Linked DNA regions of Homo sapiens: regions 1 and 2 are each linked to region 3. Evidence: promoter capture Hi-C in 16 types of primary human blood cells and fetal thymus (Javierre and others, 2016). All regions are on one chromosome and are shown on one strand. The core of a region is centred on a gene start or on the middle of the fragment in contact, and the rest is flanking DNA. Distances in the headings are between cores, read along the strand shown.

Region 1 (4,378 bases), core at 1,729-4,228, 820 kb before region 3:
TATTATCATACTTATTCAAGTATAAGCTTAACAGAAGCACCAAACCATCTATTACTCCCCCTTTCAGAACTCAGAACTGACTCCCAGTGATGGAAGATCAAATTAAAACTTCCTCTGAATCTCCCTCAAAGTGGGTAACAGGACATGGAAAGTAGAGTGCCACTTCCTAGAACCAGAAAATACCCATTAGCATCAACTTCAAGTCACATCTGTTTGCTTCCTTCCTTCCACCCTAGGGTTCAGCATTTTCTTAGCTTGTTTCTGTTACTTTAGGGAATTAAATCTCCAGATAATTCTGAATGCAACTTTCTAATTACCACCACTACTTATGCTGGCTAATGAGTCTCCTCAGCTTAAACTGCCGAGTCATTGTTCAAAATTTAGTAATAAAAGAAGGGGGAAAAAGTTTAAGAGAATAGAGGAATTGATGGATTTCAGAAGGTTAGAGAGATCTAGTGACCACGCAGCCAAGTGGGAGTGTAATCTGTGTAATTCAGCAGGAATACAAATTCATAAAATGACCTGCCCCACAGCGTATAGAATCAAAGGATTAAGTCTGGCTAAGTCTCCATGGCCCCAAAGAGGAAACCAATTAGATAATCACACGATATGTTCTTTGGCTTGGATCACCAAATCACTGTCTCAACCAACTACTAACATACAGCTCATTGGGGAGCCCTGGTTTCATGTCTTTCATCTAAGCCAGTCATTTTCAGCCATTTCTCCTCCTTCAAACCATTTACAATAATAACCCCCTCCTCTCTGTAACATCTCTCATTATAAGCAGAGATTGGGGCAAAACGAGAATGTAAGTTAGAAAAAAGTCTTTCTCCCATTCTGATACACAGCTAATGGGTCCCACCCTCAGAATCACCGATTTTAATAATCTGAAAATCTACCAGACACCTACCCCATTAATGAAAGCATATTGTCTTTTAAAAATCCCACTGCCTGAAAAACCTTTACGTTTTATTAACTGTTTAATTATAATGGAGCTAAAAATCAGGACTGGTTTTAAAGCCATGAATCTGACATATGGAACACAAAGAACAGTAAACAGATTAAGCAACTGATCAGGATGATCAACATGAGCTGCAGAAGCAAACATTCTCTCTAGGTCACAGTGCTGTACGGAGAGGACTGTTTTGCATTTCCTCTTTTTATATCTTACAACTTTTAACCACTTTTTCAGTCACGATTTAAAGAACACTTTGAAAAAGATAATGCTTCTCTATGAATTGGTTATTCCTATTATATTTAATCAAAAAAGGGAAATTATAATAAATTAATCAGTTATCTTTCTTTCTTTATTCTTAACAGATCTGAACTTTAATACTCTTCATGCTTACAGACCCCGGCTGGCCTCTGTCCCTCACCATTCTGTGTCTAGAAAAAGCAGTTGAGAACCCATATTCTTCAAGAACCCTTCCCCATTACCAAACACCATATTATTATATTTAATCTACCCTTCAGTTCTTTTGTAGCCAAATTAAAATGTATTACTCTGAAGAAACATGCTGTTGCATAGTACATCATACCTCTCTGGCTAGCCTGACTATCAAAAATAAAATCCAGAAATCCTAATAGAAAATACAAGGCAATAATTAAAGACTTTTGATGATTCTACACCAAAATAGTATCCCTTAAAGGCGAAATAAATGCATATAAATAGTCTTAGAGGTGGCCTTCATCTCAATAAGCTAATGTATCAGGACCAAAATGTTATCTTTTTGAAGCTCCCTGGACCAGCTTATAAAAAGATTAACAAATAACAAATCATTTTTGAGAGGTTTTTCTCATCTGGGAGAAAAATAAGCAAAACCAAAAGTGAAAAATGACATTATTAAAAACAAAAACTATCTTTTGTAATGGGGAGGGGAAAACGTAAGAGCAAAAATGAATCCATTTGGCACTAAGAAGAAATATTTTAATTTCTGGGCTCCTCTATGTGTCCAGGAGTTTCAAATTCACTCCATACTATAATCAGTTTGGTGGCACAGAACAGTAATTCAAATAGTTATAGAGGAAAAGTACTCTCAAATGTCAAAACCTCAGTAAATGCCCATGAGGCTAAAGGGGCATGAAGGTGAACCAGCTAACTGCGGAGCAGAGGACCATCTGCTCACGCTCTGGTCACATTTCTGTTAGCTTTTCATAGATTGTGAATCTCTCCATCATTTAACTTCCTCCACCGAAACAAAGAAAGCACTGTAAGAGATAGCAATGATGATCATTACTATTAGAAACACTCTCCTGGAGGAACCTAGGAAGCATTTTAAAAATTGATTTTTAAAAACTGACCCTCAAAACAAGAATTAAGAATGCCCATAATGAAATTATATTTATTTGAAAAAGTAAGTGTACATTTAAGAACATATGGTGCTGAGAATTAAGGATGGGGCAGGGGAAGACAAAGATCATCAAGCAACTACGACGACCTTCATAGAGAGGAAGCTGACAAATATGAACAACTCCATCAAAACACACACATGAACATGATCGACGCACTCATTCAGCAAATACATATCAAAAGCCCCTGTGTGCCTGACTCTGCATCAGGTGCTTGGGATACCACACAAACCTGCTATTGTGGAGTCATGTTCTAAGGAAAGATAATTTTCAAGCTTGTAATCAAAGGAACTTCCTTAAGCTTCCTTCCTAAAGCTCTTCTTTAATTGCATCAACACTCTAACATAAATATTAATTTTTTTAATGAAGAAAAAGGCAGGATTTCTTCAAGCTTGGGAAAAATCATTCTGGGAAATATTTCCAACATGAAATAACAACTGGGTGCAAAATACAGAAACTGGTGTTACGAAAAACATAGAGTAATAACAGCACAGTGTTCAAAGTTAGGTCAAAGAATGACTAACATGAGTAAGCCCTGTAAACTTTTCAATAGCCCTACCTAGTAACAAAACCTAACTCTGGTAAGATGACATCAAGTTAAACGTCTATTCCTGGTAAAATGCTACTCATTATTCTGGCAATACATACAGTTCAACCATAATAAACTACCTCAACAAAACAAAACAAACAAATAAAACAAATAAAAATTATTAGAAAGGAAAAGAATATCAAATTTCCTCCAGATCTGGTACTGATTCTCTTAGACCTACTCTATATATATTGGAGCTGAACATATCAACCCTTGCTCATAAAAATAAAACAATAACTTTTTTTGAAACTTCTATTCAGGTCTGGTCACAAGCTTTTCGGATAAGGGATACACAATCTGTAGTAAGCACTCAATGAAAGGTCATTGAGATGAATATATATCAAGTCCTGATATCTCAATTTATAGGTGCAATACTGAATGTCACTATGAACTCAAGATTAGAGGGTCTTAACTATTAATAAAAATATTGCTGCTTTGCCTACATTTCCCGATGTACCAACATCTTCCCAGGATAACAGTGAAGATATCTGACCCTTTCCCTGGGTCAAAAAAAAAAAGGAATCCGGTGGTCAAATAAGTTTCAGAACTATTTAATTATTTGGATTAATCAAAAATAGGCAAAATTAGTTTCCTTTTCTTCAAAACTACTCAGAGCCTTTAGGGTGCATCCTGAATCTCCAAGAAGGAACATACATTTCCCAAATGTACTTAATGAGGGAACTTGTTCTCACTGAACAGCTCTTGGGACTACTGTTTCGTGGAACACAGAATGAAAACTACCGTAACTCAATGGAAAAATTAAAATGGCACATAAAGTTCCTGCAAACCATTGTGCCTAGAACAATGTCTGGCACATCAAAGGTTCTTTTTTTGAGACAGAGTCTCTCTGTCGCCCAGGCTGTGGAGTGTGGAGTGCAGTGGTGCGATCTCCGCTCACTGCAAGCTCCGCCTTCCGGGTTCACGCCATTCTCCTACCTCGGCCTCCCGAGTAACTGGGACTACAGGCGCCCGCCAACACGCCCGGCTAATTTTTTCTATTTTTAGTAGAGAGGGGGTTTCACCGTGTTAGCCAGGATGGTCTCAATCTCCTGACCTCGTGATCCGCCCGCCTCGGCCTCCCAAAGCGCTGGGTTTACAGGCATAAGCCACCGTGCCCGGCCACATCAAAGGTTCTTAACAAGCTTCTGTTGTACCAACGTAAAGGGTCAATATTTTGTCACAAGTCCCAAACATATTTGATTGTGTATTTTTTTAAGCAATATCTATAAGATTACTATGCCAAAAACACATTTGGGGGCTGGGCGCGGTGGCTCATGCCTGTAATCCCAACACTTTGGGAGGCCGAGGCAGACGGATCACGAGGTCAGGAGTTCGAGACCACCCTGGCTAACACGGTGAAATCCCGTCTCTACTAAAAATACAAAAAAATTAGCCAGGCTTGGTGGCACGTAACTGTAGTCCCAGCTACTCGGTAGTCTG
Region 2 (4,020 bases), core at 1,423-3,922, 540 kb before region 3:
ACAAACCAGAAGTTTCTTGGTGAACATGGAATCAGAAGAATGTTACCTTGAAAAAGTAGATATTTTCATAAGTCGGCCAGGCGCGGTGGCTCACGCGTGTAATCCCAGCACTTTGGGAGGCCGAGGTGGGCAGATCACCTGAGGTCAGGAGTTCAAGACCAGCCTGGCCTGGCCAACATGGTGAAACCCCATCTCTACTAAAAATACAAAAAAATTACCCATGCGTGATGGTGTATGCCTGTAGTCCCAACTACTTGGGAGGCTGAGACAGGAGAATCACTTGAATCCGAGAGACAGAGGTTGCAATGAGCCGAGACTGCGCCACTGTACTCCAGCCTGGGCGACAGAGTGAGACTCTGTCTCAAAAAAAAAGAAAAGAAAAGAAAAAGTACATATTTTTATAAGCAGAGAATTGCTGCCTCCAGGACCAGACAAATTCCTTTGAGTCAGGGCACCTTTTCCTCTGCGCGGTGCTTCAGTGGTGCTTCAGTGCCTGTCTGCCTCTTGAGATGGCTGCTTAGTAAAGTGGTTAAGACAGTCTGCAGTATTCAGAAACACCTAGGTTGCATCCAAGTGCTGTCATTTAAGTAATTATTAAATCACTTAATTTCCCAAGTTCATTGATTTTTCATTTGTAAGTTGGGGATAATAATAGTACCTACTTGATAGTGGTTATGAGGATTCGGTGTTAAATGTAAAACATTTAGCAAAGGACCTGGTATTTGGGAAACTCTCAATAAGTGTTCTTCTTTATTACCATTTTTGTTGATGTTATGTTATTGTTATTAGTGACTCCTATCCCCTGTTGTAGTAACTGACCAAATTCTCTTCATAGGAATTCTTTTCTTTTCTTTTTTTTTGGTGAGATGGAGTCTTGCTCTGTTGCCCAGGCTGGAGTGCAAATGGCGCGATCTCGGCTCACAGCAACTTCCGCCTCCCGGGTTCAAGCGATTCTCTCACCTCAGCCTCCCAAGTAGCTGGGATTACAGGCACCTGCCACCACTCCTGGCTAATTTTTGTATTTTTAGTAGAGACTGGGTTTCACTATGTTGGCCAAGCTGGTCTTGAACTCCTGACCTCAGGTGATCCACCCACCTTGGCCTCCCAAAGTGCTGGGATTGCAGGCAGGAGCCACCGCACCTGGCCTAAAAAGTTTTTTAATCCTCAGGATATGGGGAAGTTGTGAAACCATGGAAGTCTCTTCAAGGTTATTTTTTTCATGTTTGCTGTGGTATATTGTGTTAGTTTTATAACTTAGAGGACAGTTTTCTTTCAGCTGTTTCTGAGGGGGGTGTGTGCATGCTGGGGCGTCTTTATTGTTGTTCCCATATATGGCCTTCATACATAACTATTGTTTTGAAGTTGAGTTAAATACTGAGCCACTGCTAAAAATTACCTCCAGGGTATTTTGTTGAAGATGAAAGTCTAGCAAAATATATATAGTGGCCTCTCATTTCTTAATTATAGGCTTTGGTTTATCATAGATCTTTACGAAATGTTTTTTAAATTGTGTGTTTAGTGCGTTACACACAATGTCAAGTTTTTGTTCCATAGACTGTAAGCTCCATCAAAGTAGGACTCTTGTTGACTGGAGCATTGCCAGGGTCTGGGATGGCACCTTGCACCTATGTTGTTGCTGAATAAATGTTTACTTAGTTTAAAAATTAAGAGTTTAGTTTTGAATTTAGATTGATAAACATGGACAGCAGTACAATTAAGTCAGCCTTTGTTTGCTCTGATTTTATTTCCTGGAGAGAGGTAAACATTTCCAAAGTTTTGTATACAGATAGAAAAGCACCATTTTCTTTAGACTCTTCTTTTTCACTTTGGGGCTTCTTCTGAAACACTTAGAAAGTGATCTAGTTGTAGTGGCTCCCTGATGTAAGATTGCTGTGTCAAGGGAGTGTCAGCTTCCTCACTGGACTTTGAACAGATACTTCTCATAGCACCTTATGGCAGATGGGGATATTTTTTCGCTAGGGGATTTGTTAGAATAGAGAGGAATCAAGCATATAACGCAAACCATAACCCTCAAGCACAACTTTAGAAAGTGTTCTTGGCCATCAAAGTGTTTTATTTTAAATTAGTGTCTTAGGTATTCCAAATATCCACTGACCTTATCTTGACTGTTATCTGAGTAGACATCAAGAATTTCATGCTTATTTCCTTGTGTACTAGCTGTTTTCATTTGGACTCTAAAAATAGCTGATATATATGTAAAGTAAAAGTCTAGTACCCAGAAACTTTTTTACCTTTTGGGCCAAGTAGTTATTCATTTAGGTATGTACGTTATAAAACAAGTAAGACCGAGGTAGAGACAAGAATCTGTGAATATTTTCAGTTAGAGCTATTGGACCGTCTGAAGCAAATATAATGTTAGGTTGGTTGGCCTCTCACCTAGATAGAGAAAGCTTTCCCAAGTCTAACACCAATTATAAATGATCAGGGATTTTTCTTGATGTTTAGGTTTTGTTACTTTTCTTCTTTGGTCTAGGTAATTAAGAATTAGCCATATAAATAAGTATGGAAATTACACATACAAACATGGAGGATATGCATTTTAAAGTCTATTCTACAATCACAAGTTATTGCAGAATTTGGAAACCTGTTTATTTGAAGAATAGAGTATTATTCAACCTAGACTTAGTGCCTAATAAACTTAAAGGCTAATAACCTAAGATGTTTTCCTTTCAGTATTGGATTTTTCCCTTGAGATACCAGATGTCCTTATTTTCTTACCATCAGTCTGTCACAGTAGTGTAGTCTCAGGACCATGTGGAATTAAGCATGAATTTACTCATTCGAGATTTGTAAGGTGAATTACAAAATGGTGGACATGAGGGAACTGATGGTGTTTTGGGGGCTCTAAGTGCTGTCACTGTCTTTGGTGTATAGAATCAGATTCCATTCCTTCTAATATCTCTAGAAGCTTTGACTTTCTGCTGTCTCCATTTGGGTAAATGAGCGTTATTGTGCTGGAAGCTTTATTTACCTCATTTAATCTTCACAATGAGTTAGGCGTTGTATTATCTTTTCCATTTTCAAATTAGGAAACTAAACTTAAGAAAAGTTTGAGTGATTACGTAGCTAATAAGCAAAAGACCCAGGATTTGAGATTTTATATCAGACTTCTGCTCGAACTTTGACCTTTAAATTTGTGGCGGTCATGGACCCCTTTGAGATCTGATGCAAACACAGAATTTTGTATACAATTTCAGGTGGTTCATAGCCACTCTCTCCCCCAAGTCCATCCATGGGCCTAGGCTGTGGGCCTGGAGGCTTCCTGGTTAAGGCAGTCTTTCCCTTTTTCTCCCCTTGTCACAGAGCAGGATCTTTCTTCCCTGGTCTTCTACTTCCCAGAGTGAAAGATGCTGGAAGGATGGAATATTTGTGAACAATTCAAGACCTTCATAATTAAAAAATAATAATTTGCCTCTGAATATAGAGCCTCCCCTCGCTGACCCTTCTACTACAGATGCCCTTTTTTTCTTTGGCCTTCATCTTTAGGTCTCAGGAAGGGCCATTCATTGCTCAGTGGGACAACTTACTATTAAGGAAAAAGCCCCTCTCAGGGGGGACAGAGGGGAGGTCATGAGTGGGAATTCCCCCACTGTCCTGCTGATGGTAGATCCATGTCTGTCTTCCCTGCTAGGCAGCAGGTATGTGATGCATCTTCAGGAATTGAATGGATGATTCATTCTTCCTTTATACATTAATCAAGTTCCCAGGCCAATTGTTGAGCCCTCTGTATCATTCTTCTTGTCAGATACACACTTTATGTGAATATGGCATTTTCTTTTCTATTAACAAGGATTCATCATTCTTTTAACAGTATGCCAATTTAGCGAATATTTTCCTATTCAGTTCTCTGAGCAATTTGTTCATAAACAAATGTCACTTAGATTTCCTTTATCTTTTAATGAATTGACAGAACATACAGAGGCAATTTAAGTTTTTGCCTAAGATGCTAACATTACTAGAAGAAACTGTGTATGTCACAAATCCTTCATGAGGATTGGT
Region 3 (4,301 bases), core at 525-3,024:
CATCCAAAATCCCCACTAAAGAAACTTCTAAAGGATATAACTGAAGTAGGAAAAGGACACTAGGGTAATGTCTGCGATGCAGGAAGATTGAATCAGCCCCCGCGGATGGGACTCTGATGCACACACAACACGTCCAACACCAGGCTCATGTGTCTTGGGAAGAACACCTGAACCATGAAAACATCCTCCCCTTAAGACCAGGACCGAGAAAGTCGGGTAATGGGCAGCATGTGCCTCTTCCTCCTTTGTCCGTGTTACTCAATAGATAGTCATCATTTTCTTTAAAAATGGTATGACAGATTAAATGAAAAAATGATTTTTAGAAAGGTTTATAAAGTTTTCAATGGAATACATTTCTCTAGCTGTAAAAGCATTTCCTGCCTTGACTTAACCACAAGACAGGATGGGTTGATGAAGCAGAGGCCCTCTTCTTTGTAGTGACGCAGAGGCAGTACAGGCTTGTGGTTAAGAGCGTGGGCTCTGGAGACAATTCGAATGCCTCTCAACAGCACTCTGGGCCCATTGGTGTTTCTTCACCTCTCTAAGTTCCAGTTTTCACATGTGTAAGTTAGTACCCAGTTTCTAAGATTGTTGTGAGGGTTAAATGAAACGACATATGAAGCAAAGTTCCTAGCACATGGGAGGCATTCACTGTACGTTAGCTGGTAATATTGTTTTAATGACATTGGTAGTCTGCACCAATCTTTGTGCTGTCCCCTACATTTTCTGAAAAGAAATCATCTTTAGTCATCTAGCCACAGCATAGCAGAAAAGCTGGAGGTGCTCAGAGTGTAATTTATATGGTAACACTTCACGTATAATACTAGGCTCTGCAGATAATAGTTGTTCATTTAATTTGGGTGGATCTGAGATTTTAGTGGAATACTGTATATAATTCCTATTACAGTATTCACATATCTTTTCAGATATTATTTTGCCTCCTTTAATCAAATTTTGAGAAAATTGTTTTTAGAACAAGCACTGAGAAATTTTGGTGAGTTTTTAATTTTTTAATTTTTACCAGATGTCAAAAAAGACAATCTACAGTATATTAAAGTATATCTATTCTTGAACAGATCTAAAAATAGTACAAATCATTGATGACGATGACCAAAAGTACAATATTTTCCTACAGTGTTATAGAAAATGCTTGCTTTCATCTATCAGTTTAATAGTTACTTATTAAGACTCTACTATATATTTCAGGCACTGTGGTAGTCACTTATTAACTAATAATTATTACTTGACATTTATTAATACTGGAAATATTCTTTCCTAATATCACATTTTTTTCTGATGGATATAAAAAGTATTTACTGGACCATTGTACAGATGAGGGATTGGTGCCAGATAGCTCTAAAGCCAGGGGCTGGTAGGCTTCTTCCTAATACTGAATGAAGTTTGCCAAAGCACTGTTTCCTGAAAAGAAAATAAAGTATGAACAACCCCCTTTTTCTATATCTATGGTTTTGCCTAATTAGTTCTAAATTTAAAGTTTGGCCCTTTACCACTGCTCAAAGTAGAGGAAACCATGTGTCTTCCTCATTTCTTTCTCTCTTATCATGCTTTGCATTACCACATTTATACAGCCTAAACCAGGAAGAATGTTGCGAACATCACTGACAATTATGCCAAAGCATGTTATCTACTTTAAAATATTATTTTATTTTTTAATCTTATACTTACCCATATTTCTTCCGGTGATGTGTTTGTTGACTGAGGAGCTTGATAAATCTGTGCCTGCATCAAGTCAAGAAGAGAAACCAACACTGCTGAGGGGACAGGAAATTGCACTCATATTTCAGCACAAACCAATGAGGAAGCAGCATCTCAATGAGAAGGGTGTGCGTTATCCAAGTTTGAACAAAAAAAGTCTCTTAAATACTTTTAAAGATGTTTTTATTTATTGTTTACTGTACTGTAATTTTTATAACTCACTTGTCTCATTGCATCTTAATTACAAGTATGTACTGATATTATATTATATGCCCTTTACTTAATGGAATATATGTTAAATATTTTATTTATTTCTTTGTTCATTCATTCATTCATTCATTCATTCACTCATCATGCCAGCAGTGTGCGGGGAGATGTATACGAACTGGCTATCAACCAAAAGCAGCTTTTTTTACCTAGTAAAGGAGAAAGACATGTTTAATAATGATTGTAATGCAATGGCAAAATGAAGAAGTACTTCAAGAGGGGTACAGATAAAATAGAATGAACCATTTGGATGTGTGAGATAGGGGAGGATATTGTAGGTAGATTCAGGGTGATAAAGTTCCTGGGACAAAAACAGAAAAGGGAGAATTGAGGCTGAGGGGTTTAATGATGGATATTGTGCTGCTTAAGGCAGGGGTTAAGGTAGCCAACCTCATACCGTCTTTCTTTTCTTTTTTTTTTTGAGAGACTAATGGGATTAGATATATAGTATTTGATTGTAGAACTATTTTCTCCTTTGATTCTCTCCTCTTGGAAACAGAGATGGCTAAAAACCAGTTGAATTAACTAGCTGAGACAAATAATTTTATGAAACTTGAAAATTTTATTTAAGACTTACATTGTTATTATAAAAACTCTTGTACTTTAGCAAGTTAAAGTTAATGCCAAATCTATAAGTGGTTTAATATGAAGTGAAATTAGCTCCTATAACTTTCTTACTATTGATATATAAAAAAGTCAGAAATATCACTTTTGAATCTTGCCCTCATAAACTTTTATTAGAAATGAAGGGAAAATATTATTTGAAAGAACAGAATTTATTTGGGATGAAAACATTTGACTTAATTTTAAAGATGTAATCAGGACATTTTGAATCTGTGTTTGTTAAAGGACATTAAGGGTTGTTGCTGGTGTTTTTTTTTTGTTGTTTTTTTCTCCCTACCCAGAGATAGAAAAGATTAGCCTGTATATAAGCAAGGCTTTCCATATTGAAGTTGATCAGGGTATATCAGGAATGTAAAGATTTTCAATACTTCCGTTGTAGGTCTTTCTTTGAGAATAATAAAACTAATACCTTACATTTATAAAGCACAGGATAGTTTATAAAGTAATTTAGCATATAGTAAATTATAAATCAATATATTGTTACTGAAATAATAAAAATTAAGTATAAAGTAAAAAATTAACAATAAATGTCTTGAAGTTTTACAAAAATGAAAAGTAACGATTTCAGTTTACTTGTGACTGTAATTCAAAGTTCTCATTTTTGCTTGGTTTCGTACATCTGCTTATCTGTGGTTTCTATACATGATATATCTTTTTTTAAGTTCGGGGTACAAGTGCATTGTTACGTAGGTATTTCATTACTCTGATGATCTCTTACTTTATCTGAATAGACTATACTTCTGCTTTTAGGGAAAGGGTATTTTCATGTCCATATCTAATATTCATGTATTTTGCTTTTCAAAAGAAAAAGATTATCATTAAGAAACATAAGAAACACAAACTTTCACTTCTGATTAAAGAGGAGAAAAAGCTGGAGCTGACCTATGCTAAAACCTTGCCAACTCTACACAATAAGAAATTTACCAGCTTTTAAGAAATTTGCTTCTTAATATGGAAAATATGGCAATACTGTATTTTCAACTATAGGGCTATCTTTTATAATGAACGGTTAGAAATTTTAAATCATTGAGTCACTGTGACATTTTAACAACATAACAATGAGATAAAGACAATTAGTAGTTATTCAGAACACTGCCTTAACGGGGTTGGCATTTCTGACCAGTCAATTATTTGGTTTTCTGTGGTCACAATCTGGGGACCCAACACTGGCCAGTTGGGCTACTCATGGGGTAATGGGGAGGAGATTGTGGATCTACCTGGTTCCAACTTCTCCATTGGGCAGACAGTGCAAGAGTGTGTTCTACTGATGAAGGGGTCCTTTGTGAGGCCACACTATCTGCTAGGTGTAATTTCACTAGCTAAAGCGGCAACTAAATATGGCAGGGTAAGATTTTGAAATAATGCTATATTTTCCCAGCCACATTTCTTTTCACTCTAGCCCTACCCTTACACAATCAGTGAGCCATTTTGCATTTATTGCCTCAAGGAAATTTCTGGCACAAGCGGGGGGGAAAAAAAGAAGACAATGTGAGTTTTGACTTTCAAAAATTCAAGGCCTTGGAAAAGACTGAGGCACAGACACTATGCTTGGGAGAATATGTGCTGAAATAAAGTAAAGCTTCCCAGCCCCCAAAACTGAAAAAGATTGTCCTGCTTGGCGGGGGTTGGGTTTAACGTTGTGAGAGAGGAAGTATGTTCAAGAGTTAGATGTGGTCAGTGCTTGAGAAAGGGGC

The links. The method cuts DNA at HindIII sites, captures the fragments that hold promoters and counts their contacts. A CHiCAGO score of 5 or more calls a contact.
Region 1: a fragment that was not itself captured here is called in contact with the fragment with the promoter of GPR65 in region 3 in 2 of 17 cell types (total B cells and naive B cells); the score reaches 8.1 in total B cells.
Region 2: a contact is called between a fragment that was not itself captured here and the fragment with the promoter of GPR65 in region 3, in 1 of 17 cell types (naive CD8 T cells). The highest score is 5.4, in naive CD8 T cells.

Annotation. Positions count from the first base shown.
Region 1 is chr14:88,826,104-88,830,481 of GRCh38, reverse strand. The region is part of intron 1 of TTC8 (tetratricopeptide repeat domain 8); the gene reads right to left. Among named protein-coding and RNA genes, the nearest start is that of TTC8, 3.6 kb to the right of the region's middle. The HindIII fragment of the contact is 471 bases long and covers 2,743-3,213 here.
Region 2 is chr14:88,541,189-88,545,208 of GRCh38, reverse strand. The region is part of intron 2 of PTPN21 (protein tyrosine phosphatase non-receptor type 21); the gene reads left to right. Among named protein-coding and RNA genes, the nearest start is that of PTPN21, 12 kb to the left of the region's middle. The HindIII fragment of the contact is 518 bases long and covers 2,414-2,931 here.
Region 3 is chr14:88,002,608-88,006,908 of GRCh38, reverse strand. It overlaps GPR65 (G protein-coupled receptor 65), which reads right to left and starts at 1,774. Exons shown (of 2, transcript NM_003608.4): 1 at 1,687-1,774. RefSeq lists enhancers at 330-389, 1,190-1,359. The HindIII fragment of the contact is 4,497 bases long and covers 1-4,188 here.